Regions from separate parts of the Homo sapiens genome. Here region 1 is linked to region 2. Evidence: promoter capture Hi-C in human tissues and cell types (Jung and others, 2019). All regions are on one chromosome and are shown on one strand. The core of a region is centred on a gene start or on the middle of the fragment in contact, and the rest is flanking DNA. Distances in the headings are between cores, read along the strand shown.

Evidence for each region. Contacts are between HindIII fragments. The study calls those that stand out against the background at their distance.
Region 1: the fragment with the promoter of FEV here is called in contact with the fragment with the promoter of CNPPD1 in region 2 in 1 of the 25 tissues and cell types used here (IMR-90 fibroblasts).

The regions. Positions count from the first base shown.
Region 1 is chr2:218,980,668-218,986,667 of GRCh38, forward strand. It overlaps FEV (FEV transcription factor, ETS family member), which reads right to left and starts at 4,517. Exons shown (of 3, transcript NM_017521.3): 1 at 4,357-4,517; 2 at 3,564-3,638; 3 at 420-1,589. The coding sequence starts at 4,408. The coding sequence ends at 1,000. The HindIII fragment of the contact is 32,237 bases long and covers 1-6,000 here.
Region 2 is chr2:219,172,328-219,179,121 of GRCh38, forward strand. CNPPD1 (cyclin Pas1/PHO80 domain containing 1) reads right to left here and starts at 4,598. Exons shown (of 8, transcript NM_015680.6): 1 at 4,433-4,598; 2 at 3,896-4,004; 3 at 3,264-3,345; 4 at 2,661-2,781; 5 at 2,451-2,579; 6 at 1,819-1,880; 7 at 1,023-1,140; 8 at 1-801. The coding sequence starts at 4,501. The coding sequence ends at 259. RETREG2 (reticulophagy regulator family member 2) reads left to right here and starts at 5,948. Exons shown (of 9, transcript NM_024293.6): 1 at 5,948-6,306; 2 at 6,595-6,701. The coding sequence starts at 6,026. RefSeq lists silencers at 4,220-4,514, 4,353-4,412, 4,533-4,742, 4,813-4,862, 5,853-5,932 and 2 more and an enhancer at 5,643-6,143. The HindIII fragment of the contact is 7,594 bases long and covers 1,873-6,794 here.

The sequences.
Region 1 (6,000 bases), core at 3,267-5,766, 190 kb before region 2:
GGGGCGGGTGGAAGGGTGGGTGAGATGGGGAGGGTTGGGTGGGGTGGGAGTGGGGGTTGGGTGCCTACTGGGATGGGGTGGGGTGAGGGTTGGGTGGAAGGGTGGGTGAGATGGGGAGGGTGGGGTGCGGGTGTCTGCTGGGACGGAAGTAGGGATAGAGTGGGGTGAAGGGCAACCGGAAGGGAGTGAGGTGAGCTGGGGTCGCCTGGCAGGGTGGGTATGAGGCAAGGCGGCTCCCTCGGGCTGAGCCCACCATCCAGGCCTCTCGCTGCCTGCGGGCGGCGCCCAAGCCCGCGCCACCCTCCTTCTCGGGACGTTTTCCTTGGCAGTTCTCTGCTCAGGCCCGAGATGAGCCTCTCCCTGCTTTCCCCTAACCACGGGTTCTGGCGCAGCAAAGAACAGAGAGAGAGGAGGCAGCGGAGAGCTCAGGAGCTTTAATGGGGCTGAAAGGGTCAGAAACACACCGGGAGTTTCTCCTGGGAGTGTGGGGACAGGAGGAAGGGGGCCGTGTGTCACGGAGGACGGTGGCTTTCACCAAACCTGCTCAGGTCCCAGGAAGGAGGACCGTGAGAGGCCTCCACGTGCTGAGGTGGGAGCAGTTCCTTGGGGAAGAGCAAAAGTGGGAAAAGATTTGGCACTCGTTAAAGAGTAGTGATATTGAATGGGGCTTCTAGGAGCCAGGCGGAAATGCACTGGAGTGGTGGGGAGACAAGAGAGGTCCACAAATCCCCTCCGGGACCTGGAGACCTAGAAGAAAAAAAGTGAAAGAGGGCGCACATCGCCCTCCTCAGGGGACTGCGGGGTGGGACAGGAGCAAATCTAGTACCAGACAAGGATTGAGGGAGCTTCGGTCCCGTCCCCCTGCTAAGTGCGGCAGGTGGAGTAAACTCTGGATTAGAGGACGGTTGACGGAGGCTCCCGGGCCCTCCCCGGGATGCCGATGGGATCGGGCGAGACTCTAGGCGTGCGGGCGAGGCCGCAGGCACCCGACCGCCCCGTCTAGTGGTAATGGCCCCCCAAGTGCGAGGCTGCGGCCACGGCCCCGAAGGGCCCGGGCGGGGGCTGCAAGCTGGGACTGGGGTAGAGCGCGGCGGTGGCGGCGGCAGCGGTGGCGGCGGGGCCCGGGCCCGGCCAGTAGGAGAAGCCGGCGGGCGCGACCCCGGCCGAGGCGGCCATGAGGTTGAGTTTGGAGAGGCCGGGGAAGGGCAGCGGGGCGAGGCCGGCGGGCAGCTTGTAGAGCGCGCCGTCCTGGGCGGCCGCGGCGGCGGCAGCAGCTGCGGCGGCGGCATGAGCGTGCGCGGGCGGCGGCTGGCAGGCCTGCGCCAGGCCCTGGAAGTCGAAGCGGTAGGCGTAGCGCTTGCCATGCACCTTGCTCATGATGTTCTTGTCGTAGTAGTAGCGCAGGGCGCGGCTCAGCTTGTCGTAGTTCATGTTGGGCTTGCTCTTGCGCTCGCCCCACCGCCGCGCCACCTCGTCCGGGTCCGTGAGCTTGAACTCGCCGTGACCGCCCTCCCACGCGATGCAGCCGGCGTTCGCGCGGTCAGCCAGCAGCTCCAGCAGAAACTGCCACAGCTGGATCTGTCCGCTGCCTGTGGGGAGGGGGGCGGTCAGCCACAGGCGGGAGCGGGGAGGCGGGAACTGGGGAAGAGTGCTGGCGGGAAACTGACCCACCCCGGCAGGAACCGGCACTGGGGGAGGAAAAGTGCAAGTCAAACTGCAGCTGCGTTCGGCGGGAGAGGCCGGCCCCGGAGGGGCTGATCAGCAGAGTGGTGTGTAGCCTTACCGCGCTTTTGCACAATGGAAATGCGGCTTCCACTGAAGAGCACGTAGCTTTCCAGATGCACGGTTTTGTGGAACTTGGGGGTTGGGGGGAAGGGGAAGCATTGCCTCCCCCCACGTGAGCGCAGCGGCGCACCAAGGCACTTGGCTTTCCAAGGCGAGCAAGGACAGATATCCGCCGCCACTCTCCATCTCAGCCGGGCGCCCTTATTTAGGGAAAAGACGCACAACCGTACAGGGCGGCCTTGGGCAGAATGATCGGACTGCCCCATCCCAGCTGGACCACATCCAGAGGTGGGAAGGGACAGGCGTGCAGCAGGACGACCCCAACCACTGCTGGACAAGGCCCAGCTAGTCCCGAGTCCCCAAAGACGTAGTTGGACAGGCTACTCCTGAGGTGGAGTGGTGGCTGGCTCCCTTGGGACACCACATCCGACAGGAGTAGGAACGAACAGTGGCCCCCTATACGTGACAGGAGGGGCAAGCTCTCATGGGCTCACTATCCTAGCCACCTTCGGGTGCGCAGGCCTCTGCGCTGGCCCTGAGAATTTGGCCTCTTATTTTCGGAACAGGCGGGATTCCCTGCCTACGAAGGTGCCATAGTTCTCGGGGCCTGATGAACAACTCTGAGGAGGGGAACGGACCGAGCAGCTGTTGTGCTTGGCTACCAACCTCCTCCTGTCTTTGTGTGATCTCCCTCCGAATTCGGTTGCTGGAGGCAGCAAGGAGGTTTTTCCAGGATATGCGAGTGGTTAGAGAGTGGGGTCCCAGAATTCCTGCTCCCCTGTCTTGGAGCCTCAAGCAGACAGGCAGAGAAAAATCCCGATACAATTACCCCCACTCCCTTTTAGAATAAAACGGATTTTCCTCAAAGTGGTCTGCTTACTGCCTCAAATATAGTCTTTTGAACCCCTCTTACTTTTTCAGCCACTGGCTTAGAATCCAGACGCTACCCTTCCCCATAATTTCAATCCCAATCCCTTCAAGCCAGCCCAGCAAAGAGCTTCCTGGTTTCTGGTCCCCAGAGTTAAGTTTTAGGGTCAGAAGCAAGGGAAGGTTTGGGTACAAAGGTGCACCTGGCACCAAAGGCGGAGCAACCTCAGCGGCTTGGATGACCGTTCCTGTTGGGCATAGTTTCCTTCTGGATAAAACAGTCGCCAACCTCGTTTTTGTGGTTTCTGTCTCTTGGTGAGATCTAGGGTAACGACTGAGATGGGGACTGTGGGGAGACGCTGCTTGAAGAGCCAGCCGTCAAAAGGGTAATTTAGCGACTACCCGTGGAGCGCTGGTGGTGAACCTGGGAATCAATTGCAATCGTCTGGCAGAGTTGGCCAGCAGAGATCAGCCGGCGTGAGTCAGCGCCGGAGGGTGAAGCAGGTGGCAGTAGCCAGGGTCTAGTGATTGGGAAGCCCGCTGTGTTTGGGGAGTAATTCCCCCGGTTCCATTGCCGGCTGGTGCTGCGGCCTTGAGCTCCTACTACCAGCAGGGAAAGGACGCTAAGTGTCCCAGCCCCTGCCCCAAAGCCTGGAAAACCATACACAGCAGCAAAAGGGCCTGGGGCTGGGATCCTCTCCATCTGCCTTGGCCTGCAACTCTTTTCCTGGTGCTCAGGAGATGCAGGAGCCAAAAACCAAGTGACTGTCTTCCCAAGGCCTCCGCACAACCAGGCCAGGACTCCGGGCTTCAGTGTGAACCCTGGGTCCACACTGCTCCCACCTACTGTCCGCCTGTGCCCTGACCCCAACCAACCTCGCCTCCGCCGCCCAGCGCGCCGGCCATCTCACCTTTCTGAACCGCGGGGCTCAGCGGCCCCCAGCTCGGGTTCTTCCCGTCCTTGAAGAGACCGTCTCCGACGGGATCTGCAAGCAGCAGAAGAAAAGAATCAGGAGAACCCCGGGCGGAAGTTGTGGGCTTGACAAAAGGGCCCCGGGCCAAGGCTTAAGGGGGGTGCTGTGGTCCCCAGGCGCGAGGCTGGGGGCCCGGGCCACCCGGCTCCTCCTCCCGGAGCCTGGTCCAGGCGCGCTGCGCGGAGCCCCTCCATAGAGCCCAAGTCAGGAAACGCGTCCAGGAAAAAGGAAATCCGCTTTCCGAAGGGGCCGGCTGGAGCCTTATAAAGCCGAGCGGGGAACTGCGCCAGCCGAGCTGGAGCGCGAAGAGAAGAGGAGGGTGCCTGGAGGGCCGGCCTGAAGCTCGTAGCAGGAAGGTGAGGAGCCGTGAGAGCGCAGGGGAGACGCCCGCGGACCACAGCCTTCTGGTACGGCTCGGCCACAGAGTACTCCACCACGCCAGAGACCCGTGCTTCCCCTCTCAGGCTCCTTCGGGTCCCTGAGTCCCGGCTCTTGGCCCCCAGGCTCCCAATCTGCTCATTTCAACTCCTCTAGACCCTGCACTGAAACCCAGAGCTCTCTATCTGCCTTTAGGTCTCCCCAGTGCCCTACATTACAATCGGCCCTCCATGCAACCCGAATCTCCGGACACTTCTCCTTCCCCTGGACCCCAGCACTCTCTTCCCATGCCTGAGCCTAGACTTCCCGCCCCAGGTTCCGGTGCCACCAGCCTCCGGCTGGTCCCTGGTACCTGGCAGGTACATGTTGATCAGCAGGGGCTGGGAGGCGCCGCTCTGTCTCATCGCCGCCGGGGACTGGGCGGTGGGAGATGGGGGGGACGGGGAAGGGGGGCGAGGCAGGCTTTGCGCTCGGTGGCACCGATCCCCGCCCGAAGCGACCGCGGGTGACAAGGAGGAGAAGACGGCGCCGGGTCCGGCAGGGCCTGGCGGGAGGGGGCAGCCCGGGCGTGGCGGGGGTTGCGGGGGGGTCCTGGAGAAACGCTTCCAGCTAAGGGGCCGCTTGGAACCCTCCGGCCCCCGCGCGGCCCGGGGCCGCAATTTCCGTTTTAATTAAAGCGCTGCCGCCTCGGCCCCCAGGACCCCGCCCCCGCCCCTCTTATCGTCCCATCGCAATAAAGTCTCCAACGCGCCGCGCCACAGCCAAGCGCACCCGGCAGCCCCCCGCGCCCCGCAGCCGGGGAGACGCGCGGGGGATGGGCCCGGGCCATGTGCCCTGATGGGAGCCTAGAGCGCGTGTCTTTTCCGCCTCCCTGACTCTCTGCAAACAGTGATGGGGCTGGTGTACCCGGCCCCACCTCGGACCCCAGCAGCCACAGCCCCCTCCCTAGAGCCCTTCTTCCAGTCGGCTCCCGCTCCACTCGCCGCTCACTCTCCTCCCCCTCCCTCCCTCTATCCCCACCCGGGTTCCCGTCTCCAGGCTGCGTTATCTGCATCTTCACTTTTAAATTTCCGCTTCCCTCCCTCTCGCCTGTCGCTGCGCGCCCGGCCCTGCAGCCGTTGCTCCCTTTATCTCTGCCCGCATCCCCGCTCCCTCCTCCTCTTCTCCCACTCTCTGCTCTTCCCTAGAGACCCGAACCCCTTCCCCGTCTCCTTCTTGCTTTGGCCCGTTTCCTGCCTTTCTGGGGCCCCCAAGCCTCAGGCCTGGTGCTGGGCCATCTCTCCTGGCAACTTATGATGGGTGGCCCCCTCTTCTGTCCTCCCCGCCCCCTTCTAGGTCTCTCTTTACCTCCTAGGCTTTTCTCTCCGACTCTCATCTCCCCTCCAGCCTTCTCTCTCCCTCTCATCCTTCTCCCTCCCCTCCTTTTCTCATTCATTCAGTCCCCATAAATTAGTAGTGGCTTGGACTGCTGAAGGCCTCTAAAGATGTTGAGAATCTGTCCTGGCTTTCCCTGATGGGTTCCTGAGCCCCCTGCTACTTCCCTGTACAACTATTCTGCTCCCATCCTTCCCCATCCCCTGTCCTCCCAGTCTGCCACCCACCCTCACCACTACTCCCATTCTGGCTATCCCTGAACGAGGCTGGAGAGGTGGAGGGGTTAAGACAGGGTTGTGCACTGTACAAGGCTGGAATCCACTCCAAGAAAAGGATTCCTATTTCTAACTCATGCAAAGATGTTGATGTGGTTCCCAAGTGGCCTGGAGTCTCTCTGGGTACCTATGGGGCTTCGTGGCTCTGGAGAGGCAGGCTAAGGAGGATGCTGGCTGAAGATGAGGCTCCAGCCCAGAAGCCCACCTTCTGCAGCCTTGCAGTATGGAACGGGTACTGTCAAAACTGGCATTCTCAAAGTCCTCTCTCACTGCTTGAGCCCAGGGGTGGAGGAGGCCTGGGAATGGGCAGGTCTCCTGCTAAGTGCCTGGTCCTGGGATGCCTGATT
Region 2 (6,794 bases), core at 3,348-5,847:
GTCCATCTGGGACATGTCCCTGGTCACCAAGCGGAAGCTCTCCCTGGCGGCATCACTGTCCTGGCCAAGCAGCCAGCCACTGCGATCTAGGAGTGAATTACCTTCAGTCCTTCTGCCCCACCACCCCATAAGCTCCCACCCAGGAGGACAGGGGACCTGCCAAGGACCCAGCGAGGCAGACAGGATCTGAATCAAGCTTTGCTCCTCCAGGTTCTCAGAAACTCCCAAACCCTCTTAATGCATTCCTCACAGCCCTACCTAGCCTGGGAAAACGAAAGACTTGAGGCGAGCCAGCTCCATGACACTGAAAAGGGAACATTGCTGAGGCTGAGGAAGTGAAAGGAGCACCGGGCTCCAAGGCCAGGGGGGAGCCAGGCCATAGGTATGGTACCAGGGGCTGGACAGCGCAGTGGGGACTGTACGGTTGGGGTGGAGGCAGGCATGGCAGGTTGGGGAGTCTCTCTGGAGCTTCTGGCAAAGGTGGCAGTTATGAAGAAGAGTGGGAGGGGCAGGGGGGTCTGGGGGAGGCAATGGTGGAGGAGTCAGTGAGGCCAGAAGACTGCCCCAGAGTGACCGCAGCCCCATGCTGCCTTCCAGGCAGCTGGAGACATTAGCGAGAGACGGCAGGCATTGTGGCACAGAAGGTATGCAGGGCTCCAGGAGGCAACGGGAGGTCAGTCCAAGGTCAGGCGGCCCAGGTGTAGGGATGCAGGACAGCCCCAAAGACTGATGTATTACGGCCACCGATGCCACAGCCAGGGCCACACTGCTCACATATGCCACAGCTAACAGGCAAGACAGCTGCAGGAGAGGAGATAAGAAAGAAGGAATCTGTCTTTAACACATTCACCCCTTGTCTCTAGAAATCTGTGTTCCAGTTGGAGGTCTCTATAGCCATTTACACCCCACTCTGCCCATCTATTCCCAACCCCATCTCCTGGGCTTTTCAGCAATCACTTCACACCATCCCACCCTACACACCGGCCTGCTCAAGCTCCCTATCCTTCCGAGCCCCTCCTCACCTTTACCAGCCGCTGGCAGAGGGAGCCCAGGGCCAACTGCCAGGTCGGCTGCTCCAGCAGCACACACAGGTCTGTGTAGGTGTACCAGCCTCGCCACCGTCCCTGCTGCTCAGCCACACTGGGGGAAGTGGAGAAATGACAAGAGTATGCAACTGTCCTGCAGCCAGCCCAGTGGCACCCTCATACCACTCAGGACCCACCAGGAAACACTGGGAAGCCTGTTAAACCCAGATTCCTAGGCTATCTGCTGATCTAGAAACTAAGGGTGAGACCAAGACCTATATTTTATTTATTTTTATTTATTTATTTTGTTAAGACAGGATCTTGCTGTCTCCCAGGCTGGAGTGCAGTAGTGCAATCATAGCTCACTGCAGACTCAACATCCTGGACTCAAATGATCCTCTTGTCTCAGCCTCCTGAGTAGCTGGGATTATGGGTGTACACCACTGCATCTGGCTAGTATTTTTTTCTGGTAGGGTCAGGCATCTTGCTATATTGCCCAGGCTGGTCTCGAACTCCTGGACCCAAGTAATCCTCCAGCCTCACCCTCCCAGAGTGCTAGGATTATAGACATAACTACCATACCCACCCAATACATGTATTTTAAATAAGCTGCTTCTCACCTTCCCAAAGGTGATGAAGAAGAGGACAGATGGGTCTGGGAACCACTATCTGGGCAATTCTCTTTCTTGTCTCCTCCCTCCCCCAGTTACACAGACTCTCATCTCTAGCTCCTATGGCTGAGGACTCAGCCCCCAAATCCCTCGAGCCCTTCTTCCCAACTCCTAGAACCTACCAGCTCTCCAACCAGCTCAGCACCTCAAAGATCTCCCGAGGGTCAGTGTAGAGATGCCAATCCTGTGAGTACGGAGAGTGGACATCAAACCAGACTTGGATGAGCCACAGTCATTTAATAATAAGAGCCATAGCAGCAACTACAACCGCCCCTATGGCTAATGCATATTTGGCACTTACCATGTGCCAGATACTGTCTCAAAAGTTTTTACACATTAACTCATTGAATCACCACCTGCCTGGTTTCACATTATACTCTCCACTAAGCAAGAGGGGAGAAAATGACCCTGAGAATGGTCTGTGTCCACAGGGAGCTAAACATCTAGGGGCAGAGAAAGTATGGACACAAATATTCAGAACCCAATAGGATAAACTCTGACTCAGAGTGTACCCTGTGGGGCCCTGGAGGAATAGAGGAGGCGAGGAAATGTTCTGCTCTTGGCCTTACTGCTCTACGAATCTCCAAAAACTGGTTAGTACTGAAGAGATAGGAAAGGAAGACACTAACACAAAGGCAGGAGGAGGACAGGAAGAGAAATGACGAACCAACAGAAGACTGAGAGAGAACAAAGGACTAAAGGACGGTTAAAGATGGGCCAGGGAAACTGAGCAAGAGAGAGAACAGCTGCTCACCATGGCACTCAGGAAGCCCCTCTCCAAGGCATTGAGAGTGGGCACGGCCACACCCCCAGCAGCTCCCCATTCGTCGTTGAAGACCTCCTCCTCCTCCCCTTCATCATAGAGGTACTTACTGGCCACCATCTGCAGAGGAACCAGAAGTGGTGGAGCAGAGCTCATAGCAGGCTCTTGGCTCTTTAGGGAGATGGGGAGGGGGTGTCTTACCATGGAGATCAGGAACAAGTCAGAGGATGACACATGCTGCAAGTAGTCTGGGTTTCGGTGCCGGAGCCGTTCAATGTACACCAGAGCCAGCATCATAGCACATGGGGAGATGCATGCCTCCCTGGGTGGTAGAAAGGATCACTAATTAAACCCAAGGGTCCTTCAGCTCTTGCAAGTCTTATGATGCTCGTTCCTGTCTTTACCTCTTATCTTTGGAAAAAAACTATTCCTGGCTGGGCACGGTGGCTCATGTCTGTAATCCCAGCACTTTGGAAGACCAAGGTGGGTGGACTGACACCAGGAGTTTGACACCAGCCTGGCCAACATGGTGAAACCCCGTCTTTACTAAAAATACAAAAATTAGCCAGGGGCGGTGGTGTGTGCCTGTAGTCCCAGCTACTGGGGAGGCTGAGGCACAAGAATCACTGGAACCCAGGAGGCGGAGGTTGCGGTGAGCCGAGATTGTGCCACTGCACTCCAGCCTGGGTGACAAAGTGAGACTGTCTCAAAAAAAAAAAAAAGAAAGAAAGAAAAGAAAGAAAAGACGATTCCCCTTTCTCTAGGGCCCAAACACTCTCATCCTATCCTCATTTCCAGGCTCACCGGGACACATGAGCTACATATTTCTTCTGGAGTCGGCGAATAGGGCTGGGGGCTGCCTTCTGGAGCAGTTCGACAGCAATGTCTGCAAGGGACAGAAGGAAGGCCGAGTGAGCAAACAAGCACCCACACCCAACACACCAGTCCCCACTGCTAGCAGAAGACCCAGATCTGTATTTTCTGAGGCCTTGGGGACAGGACCATAGTAACAAAATAGAGATCAAATTCTCACACACTGAGACAAAAAGCCCATTCCAAGTTCGAATTTCAGCTCATTCTAACAGGAAAGCTTATTGCCCTGTCACATCAAACTATCCAGATTTATCTGTCACTGCTGTTCATCTGTGGCATAAACATGCCTTGTTTACTTGGGGAACATATGATGGATATCCTTCGAAAATTAGCTTTTCAATATATAAATCAAGAGTGATTTGTATAGATATATGTGGCAGCAATGTTTTTTATTCATTTGGGCTAAAAGAATGGGAAATGCAAACTGCCCTCTTGAACCAAGTACCAACGAGCTAGCAATGAAGAGACAGTGTAGCCACGGGGCAAACCTCGAGCCATTTTCTGCCTGATGACAATCCCATTTTCATGCTTCTCACTTGTCCAGTCACACAACACTGCCTAACCTGCCACCGGGCTGGAGAGCTCCTCCAGGCTACAGTCGGCTTCCCAGTCCCAGCCATAGTAGAGCCTCCTTCGGATCCGGGCACTCAGCTTCTGGTGTCCTGGGAGGAACTGAAACAGGGCAGGGGCAGCGGAGGGTGAAGGGCACGGAAAGGTATGATGCAGATCCTGGCTCTGGGCTGGAAGGCGGGGCAGGGGACAGGCCGGCCTCGCTGCTAGGGGGCCCGTGCCTTACCCAGACCCGCGTTCTGTAAATCGCTTGCCAATGGCAGCCTGGTCCATAGAGGGAGGAATGCCCCCACCCCCATCGAGGGTTCCCCGGGAGAAGTTCTCCGAGAAGGGCCCTCGTGTGGCCACCCCTACGCCCATTCCTATACTCCGCGGCTCTCCCTCCCGGCCCAAGCAGCCGCGGCCTCAAGGAAGCACTGCTCGAGCAGCTGCCGCCCAGTCCCGGCACAGCAGTCAGGCGAGCTCGCAGCGCCGCTCAGGCCGGGAGGGGCGCGCCGGGAGGCCGGGGAGGGGGCGGGACCCCCACTCACCGTGAAGTCCTGGAAGCCGGCGAGGGAGAAGGTGCCTTCTTCGTCCAGCAGGAGCCCGGTCAGGTCCATCGCGCCGCCAGTCGCCGCCCTGCGAAGGTGAACGGAAGGAAACGAGTTGTAGGGGGCTCGCGGAGCTGTCCTTGCCCGCCTGTCCACCTGCCAGCCTGCCTCCCCGGGGCGGGCCGCCGTCCTCGCCCTCGCCCTCGCAGCTCCCTCCCCCCGGCGGCGGAAGGCGGGGCCCGGGCTGAACTGGGCGCCTCTTCCTGTTCCGCCCCGGGCTTGGCGCGGCGCGCGGGGGCCCTAGGCCCGGGAAGGGAGGTGTCAAGCGTCCGTGCGACGCTCACCTCGCGGAGCAGAAAGGAGATGCGGCTGCGAGGCGCGTACTCCGCCTGTGCCGCGTCCGCCCGGCGTTTACAAGCCGCGGGGGTGCCGCCTGCAAGTCAGCGCCTGGCACTTCCTGCCGCCCATCTGGCCCAGCCTCCCGCCCCGACCCGCGGGCAGGAACCGGACTCGAACTCCTGGTCTCACGGAACGTGGCCAAGCCCCAGGCGCCTCTGAGAAATGGGGACAATTCGTAGGGGGGACCACGCCGCACTGAGGATGAACAAGCCAGGCGTAGCAATGGAGAAGTTAATGTGAATAAGACGAAACGCACAACAGGAAGTTGTTCCCAGTTGCTTTTTAGGAGAGATATTATACATACTCAGCAATGCATATGAAAAGCGTCTGAAAGGACACACAGGAAATTTAGCAGTGGGTGAACTATGAAAAGGAAGAGAAACTCAGGGTGTTTTTTTTTTTTACTGTAATTTGAACTTTTAAACCTAAGGCTACTGAGGAAATTCTGTGATCTTAAGCGAATGTAAGGCCTCAAAACGTGTCAACACGTCCACCCAAAAGTAAACTGCATCTACCCAAGGTTTTGTGTTGAAACCCACCTCCCGCCTCCGATCTCATGCTTGAGTAGGCCGAGGTGGGAAGAAGCTCCGATATGTGGAAGTGGGAAAGTTTAAGGAGATAGGAAAGAAACAACTTTTCTGAGTAGATGTTGTTTTCGAGTCTGTCGAGTCAAGCGCTGGTGTGTGTTTGTTTACCCACTGAGGGGAGGGAACTGGGAGGACCAGTGCGTTGAGGGTTGGTTGAGTAATGGGACGGCCACCGCCCTTCCCGAGCGAGCAGAAGCAGACCCTACCGGGGATACTGGGAATCTGGAAGCCCACTTCCTGCCCCACACGGGGATACCGGGGCAGCACCACACTCCCTAGCCGCCCTGCCTACTGTGGGATAAGAAAACGGGCTCGACTGCCTGGACCTAGACCCGGACTCGGAACCCGGGGTACTTCGTCAACCAGAAAACGAACCTGTGTAGGCGCAGTGTCAGCGGCAGCCGCCGGGGCGCATGCGCGGCCCGCCCTATCCGGGGGGGGGGGGGTTAGGCCGCGTCACGTGACGGGCTCAGCGCTCCGCAGTCACGTGACGCTCGTCCGCAACCTCTGCTGTCCTCCGCGGCGCCCCCTTCCGCCTGACGCGCCCCCGGCGGCGGCCGCGCAGCCCTGGCTCCTCGCGGGCTCGGGCGGCGGCTGCGGCGGGGCTATGGCGAGCGGCGGTGGCGGGGGTAACACTGGCGCGGGTGGGGGGCCGGGGATGGGCCTGAGCCTGGGCCTGGGTCTGGGTCTGAGCCTAGGCATGAGTGAGGCCACCAGTGAGGCAGAGGAGGAGGCGGCCACGGCCGAGGCGGTGGGACGCCTGGCCACGACGCTGTGGCTGCGGCTCCGCGGCTGGGAGGCGGTGCTGGCGGCGGCGCAGCGGTTGCTGGTGTGGGAGAAGCCGCTGCACAGCCTGGTCACGGCGGCCGCGCTCAACGGCCTCTTCTGGTAACGGCCGCGGAGGAGGGGGCGGGGCCGGGATGAGCGGGGGAGGGAGGGGTCGAGAGCACCATTCCCCTTTCTGGGTTATCACTTGGCCTGGGGGCATGACCCATCCCCAGTTTTTGCAGGCTGACATCCGCTTGAATTGCCCATTTTTTTCTATCTCTGAGTCGTGAGTCGCGAGTTAGGCCTGGAGGTGCCATTACCCCATCAGTAGGCGCCTTTCCACCTTCTGAGATGGATGCATGAGCCTGTCTCACCCACTCACTGCTGAGGTGCCTGTCTCTCCCTAAGGTTGCTGTCTTCCTCGTCCCTCCGGCCCTTCTTCCTACTCAGCGTCTCACTTTTGGCCTATTTTCTGCTGGATCTCTGGCAGCCTCGCTTTCTCCCTGACGTTTCAGGTGAGTGTTTCTTCATTCAGTAAGCACCCATTGGGTACTTGCTTGGTGCCTGATTCCGCTGGGTGGGGTTAAGTGGCGAGGGGAACGTACAGC